Regions from separate parts of the Homo sapiens genome. Here all the other regions are linked to region 2. The links are contacts of gene promoters, found by promoter capture Hi-C in human tissues and cell types (Jung and others, 2019). All regions are on one chromosome and are shown on one strand. The core of a region is centred on a gene start or on the middle of the fragment in contact, and the rest is flanking DNA. Distances in the headings are between cores, read along the strand shown. Region 1 has its middle 12 kb from the start of CENPA. Region 2 holds the start of DPYSL5 (dihydropyrimidinase like 5). Region 3 overlaps DPYSL5 (dihydropyrimidinase like 5).

What was found. Contacts are between HindIII fragments. The study calls those that stand out against the background at their distance.
Region 1: a contact is called between a fragment that was not itself captured here and the fragment with the promoter of DPYSL5 in region 2, in 2 of the 25 tissues and cell types used here (IMR-90 fibroblasts and hippocampus).
Region 3: a fragment that was not itself captured here is called in contact with the fragment with the promoter of DPYSL5 in region 2 in 9 of the 25 tissues and cell types used here (H1 embryonic stem cells, bladder, hippocampus and 6 more).

The regions. Positions count from the first base shown.
Region 1 is chr2:26,796,461-26,799,517 of GRCh38, forward strand. No RefSeq gene overlaps it. Among named protein-coding and RNA genes, the nearest start is that of CENPA, 12 kb to the left of the region's middle. The HindIII fragment of the contact is 9,087 bases long and covers 1-3,057 here.
Region 2 is chr2:26,846,603-26,849,395 of GRCh38, forward strand. DPYSL5 (dihydropyrimidinase like 5) reads left to right here and starts at 1,530. Exons shown (of 13, transcript NM_020134.4): 1 at 1,530-1,652. The HindIII fragment of the contact is 13,507 bases long and covers 1-2,793 here.
Region 3 is chr2:26,883,772-26,886,657 of GRCh38, forward strand. All of the region lies in intron 1 of DPYSL5 (dihydropyrimidinase like 5), which reads left to right. Among named protein-coding and RNA genes, the nearest start is that of DPYSL5, 37 kb to the left of the region's middle. RefSeq lists an enhancer at 2,280-2,329. The HindIII fragment of the contact is 5,290 bases long and covers 1-2,886 here.

The sequences.
Region 1 (3,057 bases), core at 120-2,619, 50 kb before region 2:
GGTAATGTTTCTTTTTTATAGTATTCCAATCAGTCAGCATTCACTTAAAAAAAAAAAACAGAAATAACTCCAGATATTTTAAGCAAAAAGGGATTTGGTGGAAGGGGTTGACTATAGTAATGTCAGGAAGGCTGGTTGAGCCAAAGAGAAGAGGATGCTGCCCAAAGATCAGGAAGCTCCCAGTGCCCACCCCCACTGCTGCTCTGCTGGAAGCATAGCCCTGCCACCATTGCATTGAACTGTACCACTGCCGCTGAGCAAAGTCAGGATCCCCAACTCTGACCATTGTATCATGCCCGGCTGGCTCTGCAATGTCATTTTGATGTGTCTTCAGTATGGATTTTTTTTTTTTTTTTTCTGAGTCAGAGTCTCGCTCTGTCACCGAGGCTGGAGTGCAGTGGTGCGATCTCCAACTTTTTCAGTTTTCTTTGATAGGAGAGTGGTCCCAATGACCTTTTCTACCATTACTGGAAGTTGAAGTTTGATGTGTCTCTTGATATTCCCATACTCATCATTACTTATTGCCATTAAAATAAAACAAAAATAACTTAAATGTATTCAACATCAAACATAACACATGCTGTCATATATAACAATCAAGACTCTCATTTGCAAGTTTGGGGACCCCAACTCAAACTGACTTAAGAGGAGAAGGTTCATATAACTGAAAAGCCCAGAGACATTTCTGGTTTCGCTACAGTCAAATCGAAGGGCTGTAACAAAGTCATGAGATTTGGTCTCTCTCTTCACCCTTTGCTGCTTCTGTTAGTGTCACTTTCAGGCAGGCCTTCAGAACCTGTAAATTTGGCATGTCACATGGCAAAGGGGAATTAAGAGTGCTAATCAGCTGACATTAAAATAGGGAGATTTAGAAGAAAAAAAGGACAAAGCAAAAAATGGGGAGAGTACCTTGGAATTTTGGGTGGGCCCAATGTAATCACAAGTGCCATTAAAAATGGAAGAGTGAGAGAGAAGTGTGTTAGAGATAGGAGTAGGAGAATGGTCAGGCAGATGCAACATTGCTGGCATTGAAGATGGAGGGAGAGATCACAGACTGACGAGTCTAGGTGGCTTCTAGCAGCGAAGAGGCAAGGAAGCGGATTTTCTTTTAGAAACTCCAGAGAAGAAAACAGGCCTGCCGATACCTTGATTTTTAGCCCAGCGAAACTTGTGTCAGACTTCTAAACTACAGAACTGTAAGAATAAATTTGTGTTTTATCTAAGCCACTGAGTTGTTGCTAATTTGTTACAGCAGCAATAGGAAACTAATACAAGTGGTTTCCCAAGGAAATTTGAGGCTTCTTAACAGGTAAGAGAGAATGTAGACAGGGCAGACAAAAATAACAGATGTCTACTATACCACATGTGGTGTTATGATAGACATTGGTTTTCGTCCACAGTTCCGGGCTCATAACTGCTATAGCCGTTGTTAGTTCTTTTGTTGTAATATTGGGTATGTGTTAGGCCTCAGGAAACAGAATCTCTCCTTCTCCTGCCCTCCTTTCACCTGCCCCAAGACAGGCCTCTAATCTTTCTCAGGCTTTCAGATTGTGGGTCTTAAGATCCTACCCAGAGAGGTTCCCTCTATACCCTGGGGGAAAGAATGCGGAGGTCCTGAAGCTTCCATAAAAACCCTTGAGGACGGTTCAGGGAGGTTCCCGATACCTGAACTCGGGGAGGTTCCTGGAGGGTGGCGCCCCCCACACCCCCCACCCCCCACGGAGGGCTTAGAAGCTCTGTGTGCATTCCCCATACCTCACCCCACGTGTCTCTTCATCTGTTTCCTTTTTTTATGTTTTTCATGCATTTTTTTTATTTTTTATTTTTCATTTTTTTTTTTTTTAGACAGAGTCTCACTCTGTCACCCAGGCTGGAGTGCAGTGGCGCGATCTTGGCTCACTGCAACCTCCGCCTCCCAGGTTCAAGCAATTCTCCTGCCTCAGCCTCCCAAGTAGCTGGGATTATAGGCGTGGGCCACTACACCCGGCTAATTTTTGTATTTTTAGTAGAGGCGGGGTTTCGCCATGTTGGCCAGGCTGGTCTTGAACTCCTGACCTCAGGTAATCCGCCTCAGCCTCCCAAAGTGCTGGGATTACAGGTGTGAGCCACCGCGCCCAGCCATCTGTATCCTTTGTAATATTTTTTGTAACAAACTGGTAAATGTGTTTCCCTGAGCTCTGTGAGCCACTCCACCAAATTAATCAAAGAGGGGGTCATGGGAACCCCAACTTGAAGCCAGTCCTAGAGGCCCAGACTTGTGACCGGTTTTGGTGGGTGGGCAGTCTTGGGGACTGAACCCTCAACGTGTGGGATCTGATGCCATCTCTGGGTAGACAGTGTCAGAAATGAATTAGAGGACACCCAGCTGGTGTCCACTGCTTGGTGTATGGGGAAATCACCTCCAACGTTTGGTCACAGAAATCTTCTGCATGGATGATTGTTGTGCTGTGAGAGTGAGGAAAAACATGGTTAGAGTTCTCCCTACATACCATATGACGCACTGTGTCACAATTACAAATTTTTAAAAGCCAGATGGCACCTACTTTTTTTTTTTTTTTTTGCCATTACTTTCAATGGCAACAACCGCAATTACTTTTGCACCAACCTAGTAATATACTTTGAGCAGCATTAGAGTTTTATTCTATTTTATATTCTTTGGATTTATTTTAATGCTGTTTACAGGAACTGAAAAGCTCCATTCTTTTTAAAAGATTTTCTAATTAAAGTATAACATACATACCAAAAACACAAATGTATACAGATTACAATTTTACAGCTCAATTAGTTTTCACAAACTGAAATCAATGCATCTCAGAATCCTGCCCCGTTCTAGTCAATACTTACTCTGCCAAGGATAATTGTTATCCTGTTGTTTTTTTATATAGACGGAGCTTTGCTCTTGTCGCCCAGGCTGGGTGGGGTGTGTGGCCCAGGCTGGGGTGCAGTGGCGCAATCTCGGCTCACTGCAACCTCTGCCTCCCGGGTTCAAGTGATTCTCCTGCCTCAGCCTCCTGAGTAGCCGAGATTACAGGCACCCACCACCACGTCTGGCTAATT
Region 2 (2,793 bases), core at 280-2,779:
GTCCGGGCAAGCCCTGGAGAATCCATAGGGCAGTGCCCCAAGCTGGAGCAGTTTTCACAGCCACATCCCGGGCTGCACTGGGTTAGGGATGCTTTGAGGTTCCTCTGGGGGCTCCCTGCTCTCTGCTTACCAAGCAGGCGGGAGTTGGGAAGGGGAGAAGGAGTGCAGACTCAGGGGTGGGGTAATCCAGAAATGCATCCCTCAAAGGCCAGCCTGGCCTGGTCCAGGCCCTAAGCTCTCTGGGGAAGGACGGCAGGGAACCCCGCCTTGGCGGGCTCTGCGGGTCCTGCGCCCGGGTAGATTTTGCTGAGATGGGGAGAGGGGACCCCCTCCACGCCCCCGGAGTAGTGAACACCATTTTGTTTGAAAGTATCCTGCAAAGAGAACCACCTCACGAGGCCATGGCTGCCAGGGGACTCCTCTCCCCACCGGATCGCCGGGGAGCCCGGGGAGGGAGGGATTCTGCAGCTGCAGCTTGGAGGTCCTTGATGCTGCATTTTAACGCGCATCGCAACGCCTTTGGAGTGACATTAAGTGCAAAGAGGCAAATGACTAATCCAAACTATTATTACAACTGCAGAAAATAACACAGATCAATGGCAAAGGCTTGAACCGGGATTAGCTAGGGAGGTGGGACAAACCGGGGATGATCCTTCCTCTCCTTTTTTAGATTTGTTTATTTTGGTAAATTATGTATGTATTTAAACATGAAGAAACAGGTGAAGCGAATGTAAATTGGGTTATAAATAATTTCCAAAGGCTTCGCTGTCCCTTGACAGAAGCCAGAAATAAGACAGGCACTGGGCCTGAGCGCTCTGGACAGGGAAGCACCCGCGTGGCGCTGGGCAAAATCTTCTCAGTGGAGAGAACGCACTCCGGGTTCGAGACCTCCCCGGGTGCAGATGCGAACTGCGGTGGCCCCAAGTGGCCGTCCACTTTGTTCATGAGAACAGTTTTCCTATAACGCCCACCCGGCCCTTTGCATCCCGCAATCCCGCGGGCGTCGGAGCGGGTCTTGGCGCGAACCAGGCGGCCTCGGCGGGGTCCTGCGGCGGAGGGCAGCGCGGCCGCAGCCCGGGAGAGGCGGCCGCGGCATTGTTTCAGCCCCTGGGGTGGGATCCAGCTGGGGGAGGGGAGGCGGGGTGTCCTCCGGAACCGCCCCCGGCCCTCCCTGGGGACCCGTGCCTCAGCGCGTCCAGGCTTTGTGGTGTCCTGAGTCGCCATGGAAACCCGAGGGAACGCGGAGCCGGGTGCTAGGGGGGTCGGTGAGTTCTCCGGCCGCGCCCTCCGTCCGCTCTCGGACCCCGGCCCTGCAGCAGGGCCTGCCGGGAGTTGTAGTCCCCAGGCGGCGGCGGCGCGCGGCGCCAAGGATGCGGGACGCCGCCTGTCCCCGCCTCCCCTTAACCTGCTAGCTGAGGTGGGGAGCGGCGGGAGGAGCCGGCCGCGCGGTGATTGGCGGAGGCCGCTCCCAGCCCCCGACACGCGCCCCTCCCCCGCTCCCCACTCTGGACTCCCGCGCTGGGCGCGCTGAGGCGGCCCCCGAGCGAGCGCGCGTGCAGCCGCCGCCGCCCCGAGCACCCGCAGCTCCGGCGCCGCGGCGAGACGGAGACGGACCGAGCCACGGGCCCCCGCGGCCGCAGCATCTCGGAGGAGTGGGTGATGGCAGGGGGGTCGGTGGGCTTACCCCTCCCGGGCTAGGACATCCTCCTCTCCCCCTTCTGTTTCTGCGTGAGGCGCACAAAAGGGCGGGGAGCCGGGTGAGCCTGGGGCCCGGCCGCAGGGGACGCGGCGGGAGGTGTGGTTTGGGGTTGGGAGGTGGCCATCGGGGCTAAGCCGGGGCGCTCTTGGGGTCCTCTTTGTACGCCCGCGAAGCGCCGTGCCGGGCCTTGCTCATAGTAAGCGTTTAATGCGTGCTCGCGGGGTTGCAAAGCCCTGGGGTGAGGAGGCGGCTCGGCCGAGGGGTTTCGCGCCTAGCACGCAGTGGGCCGCTTTCCTAGCCGGGCGCGGTGCAGTGGACCGCTGGAGGGCTGGGCGGGGGCGCCTCTGGCCGGGGGCCAGTCCTGCCGGTCCCAGGATCTGCGCTGTCCCCGGTCCCACACACCACCCAGATACACACCCTCCGTCCTTCTCGCCTCCGAGCTGGGATCTGCCCAGCCTGGACCCGACCCGGCGGTCTGTTCCACCGCCCGGCTAACGGAGCGGACGCCTGCAGAGGACTCGCCCGCCGCCTCCGAGCCTCCCGCCTGAGCCACAAAGGCCTCCTGCGGCTGCCCAGCCCGGAGCGGGCGCCGAGCCGGGTCCCTCGGCTGGAGCCCAGCGCGGGAGCCCGCCTTGCAGCATCGATCTCAGCGGGCACCGACGTCGACGCCCCGGGCCTGGGGACGGGGCTGTAGTCTGAGCTGGAGAGAAGCCGGGAGAGGGCGAGGGGAGGCCTCGGTTGAGAAAAGATGGGGATGGGGAAGGCTGGGGAGCTGGGTTAGGACAGGTAGTGGGTCTCGGGGAGCAGGGAGTGGGAACTAGGGTTTGAGGAGGAAAGAGAAGGGGCGGGGGCGGGTCCGAAGAACGAGGGAAGGAGCTCGGTGCAGGTGGCGCCCGGCGAGGCTGGTTCTGCTGAAGAATGGGGAGGGGAGGAGGGATGCAGGCGGGTGGAGGCCGCCTGGGTTTGAGGAGGGAGGACGGGAGCGAGGAGAAGACCCGCGCTGTGCGGGGGAGGGGGGCCTCCTGGGAAGGGGAGCCTCCCGAGGAGGGAGGGGCAAGCAGCTGAGAGGCGGTCTCGGGCCCGAGGATCCTCAG
Region 3 (2,886 bases), core at 340-2,839, 37 kb after region 2:
GTTCATACTAATTTTCAGCTTAAAAGAGAAGAAAGTAGTTTTATATTCTCATTCAATTTCTACCCTGAATCTAGGTTTCATCAGGTAGCCCGGGTTTGTGGTCCTTTCATGGTTAAGAAAATACATCCTTTCCTCCTGTTTTCCCCAGCCCACACCTGAGGTCTCCAGCTGAGAAGAGCCCCCGCCCCGTTTCCTGGCAGTGGGTGTGAGCCCTCTTCCAGCATTTGGCCCTTGTTCTAGGAAGCAGCCACTCCAGGAGCTGCTGGAGACCCTTGAGCTGCAGCTGCCATCCTTCCAGGGGAGATGATGGAATTATTTCTGGGGCCTGGAGACAGCTGGCAAGAGCACGGGAAGCACAGCAGGGCTGAGTTATCTGCCAGGAGTCGGTGCCGGGTGGGCGAGGTGCTGGTGGTGGTGTGGTGCCTCCTCTGGTCACAGACGCTTGTCCTTCCCCAGCTAAAGCCCCAATCGGGAGTCAGGAGTCCTTGTCTCCCATGTGTACACCTGTCTGTCCTTCTTCCAGGACCTGCGGGAGCTGGGCTTATGGAAGTGGGATTTACTCACACTTACTTTTGAGGGTCCTCAGCCTGCCCAGGCCTCAAGTAATGAAGCCTCCTGGCCTCAGGGAGTCAGCCAACACTTACAAGGAGCCAGGCTTCAGCTTGAACGCCCAAGACTGGTGCTGTGCACACTTGGGCTGGGAGGTGCACGTGAACACACATCAACGCACAGCTAAGCTTGTCCTATCTCACACACACACACACACACACACACACACACACACTCAGCTCTGGCTTCTGACAACTGCCCCTTAGCTCTTCTGTGCCTTTGAACTAATCTCACTGAACAAGTGGTCAGCAGCTCCCATTTCTTACCACCCTCTCACAGCTAATCCTTTGCAATGTAGCTTTTGCCCTCTGCACACTGATGGTCCTTGTTCATTAAGTCCAGCCACGTGGGGCCGGGCCAACTCAGATGAACTCATGGGATTAAAACCTCTTACTTGATCTTAGCCTGTTAAGAAATCATCCCTGTGGATTTATATACACCTTCCCAGAAGCTATTTGTTTCATTCAACTCCTGCTTGCTTGGGGCCCAAGCTTGATCTGTACTTGTGTCAGTTTCTTTTAAAAACCGTCTCAGGAGGCCGGGCATGGTGGCTCATGCCTGTAATCCCAGCACTTTGGGAGGCTGAGGCAGGCGGATCACCTGAAGTCAGGAGTTAAGAGACCAGCCTGACCCACATGGTGAAACCCCATCTCTATTAAAAATACAAAATCAGCTGGGCGTGGTGGCAGGTACCTGTAATCCCAGCTACTCGGGAGGCTGAGGCAGGGGAATTGCTTGAACCTGGGAGGTGGAGGTTGCAGTGAGCTCGGATCGTGCCATTGCACTCCAGCCTGGGTGACAGAGCAAGACTCTGTCTCAAAAAACAAAACAAAATAAAAAAAAACCTGTCTCAGGAGCAAGCCCTTGTTAACCATATTCACACCCATGACGCTGGCCAATGCAGATGGTATTTCCCTCCCCGTACCCACTCCTGCACTCGGAAGAGGATGTTCTGGTGCTGGGCTCTTACCTATAGTCTTGCCCACTCCCTGACCTACTTGTTCCGATTCTACCTTCTCTCCAGTGCAGTGACAAAGGTGGTAGCAGTTTTCCAGATGTGGATGCTTCATGATCTGGTGCAGATGGTCCCCAGGTACAAACGCCCCAGTCCAGCCCTCCCCCAAAATGGCACCTGCCATCTATAGGCTTGATCCTGCCCCGCCCCTGGGTTAATGGAAAAAGGGCCTGGTGGGACATTCAGAGACCTCCTCACTAGCCAATTTGGTATGGAAATATGTTTGTGGCTGTGGACAAGGACCCAGGGTGTCTCATGGTGGATGTAACATTAGACAGAGACTCTCTCTAGCCTCTGACTGCTCTGCCTGATCAGTCCTTCCTGTGCCAGTCCCAGGCCATTCAGGTTCTCCACTAGCCTTTGGAGATGGCTGAGGCCCAGATGGAAGAAAGGGGACCTGCCCTTCTGCTCTCCTCAGTTCCTTGCCCCAGGGTTGGGTTCTACTTCCAGAATCCCTCAAAACATTTTGCACAAAACTCCCAGGTAATCCAAATCAGGACCACCTCTCAGAGCAGTCTTCCTGGATGTCGACCCTGGCCTGGGTTGGATAGGAATCTGGGAAGAGTCTGAGGTTTCTGGATGGGGTGACTGGGGACAGGGGAGTTGGTTTTGGACAGGTTGAGTGTGTGCTGCCTGTGGAACCCAGTAGAATGGTCCAGTGGGCATTCGGATGGTATTAAAATGCTCCCGCTCCCTCATTAGCTAGACTTTCAGTTTCCTGTTTGCTTCAGAAAGTAGAGAACTGGGGGTTGTGAAAAGCTCAGTCACTGAGCAGGTAAAGTTTGATTGGATGTCGGGAGAAGTAGTCACGGAGTGGAAACAGCTGTGACCTTTTCTTTTTTGCTTGTCACCTAATTGCTATTAGTCATTAATTCATATAAACTAGATACCTTTGAGAAGTAGGACATGGTCAGATGAATGAGGTGTGGAGACTTAAACAGTAATGACATGCTGAGTTCACAGGTCTCTGTGTCATTATGACCTGCCTTACATGTAGGTCATAAATATTTTATTTCTGTCTAAATAAATTATAAAAAATGCACTTAATGATATTAAGCTGCAGCTACTTACCTGAAAAGGAACAAAATATCGCCTCTGAAGTAACTACTAATTATACAATTTTGCAAACTAATAAATATTATTTTAAATCTACTCAATAGTTGATAAATCAATTATGAATTAATCATAAAATTATTCTGTGCTTTAATATTAGTTAAGTTTTTACTGTTTACTACTTAGCCATTTAGTTTTTTAAACTTAAA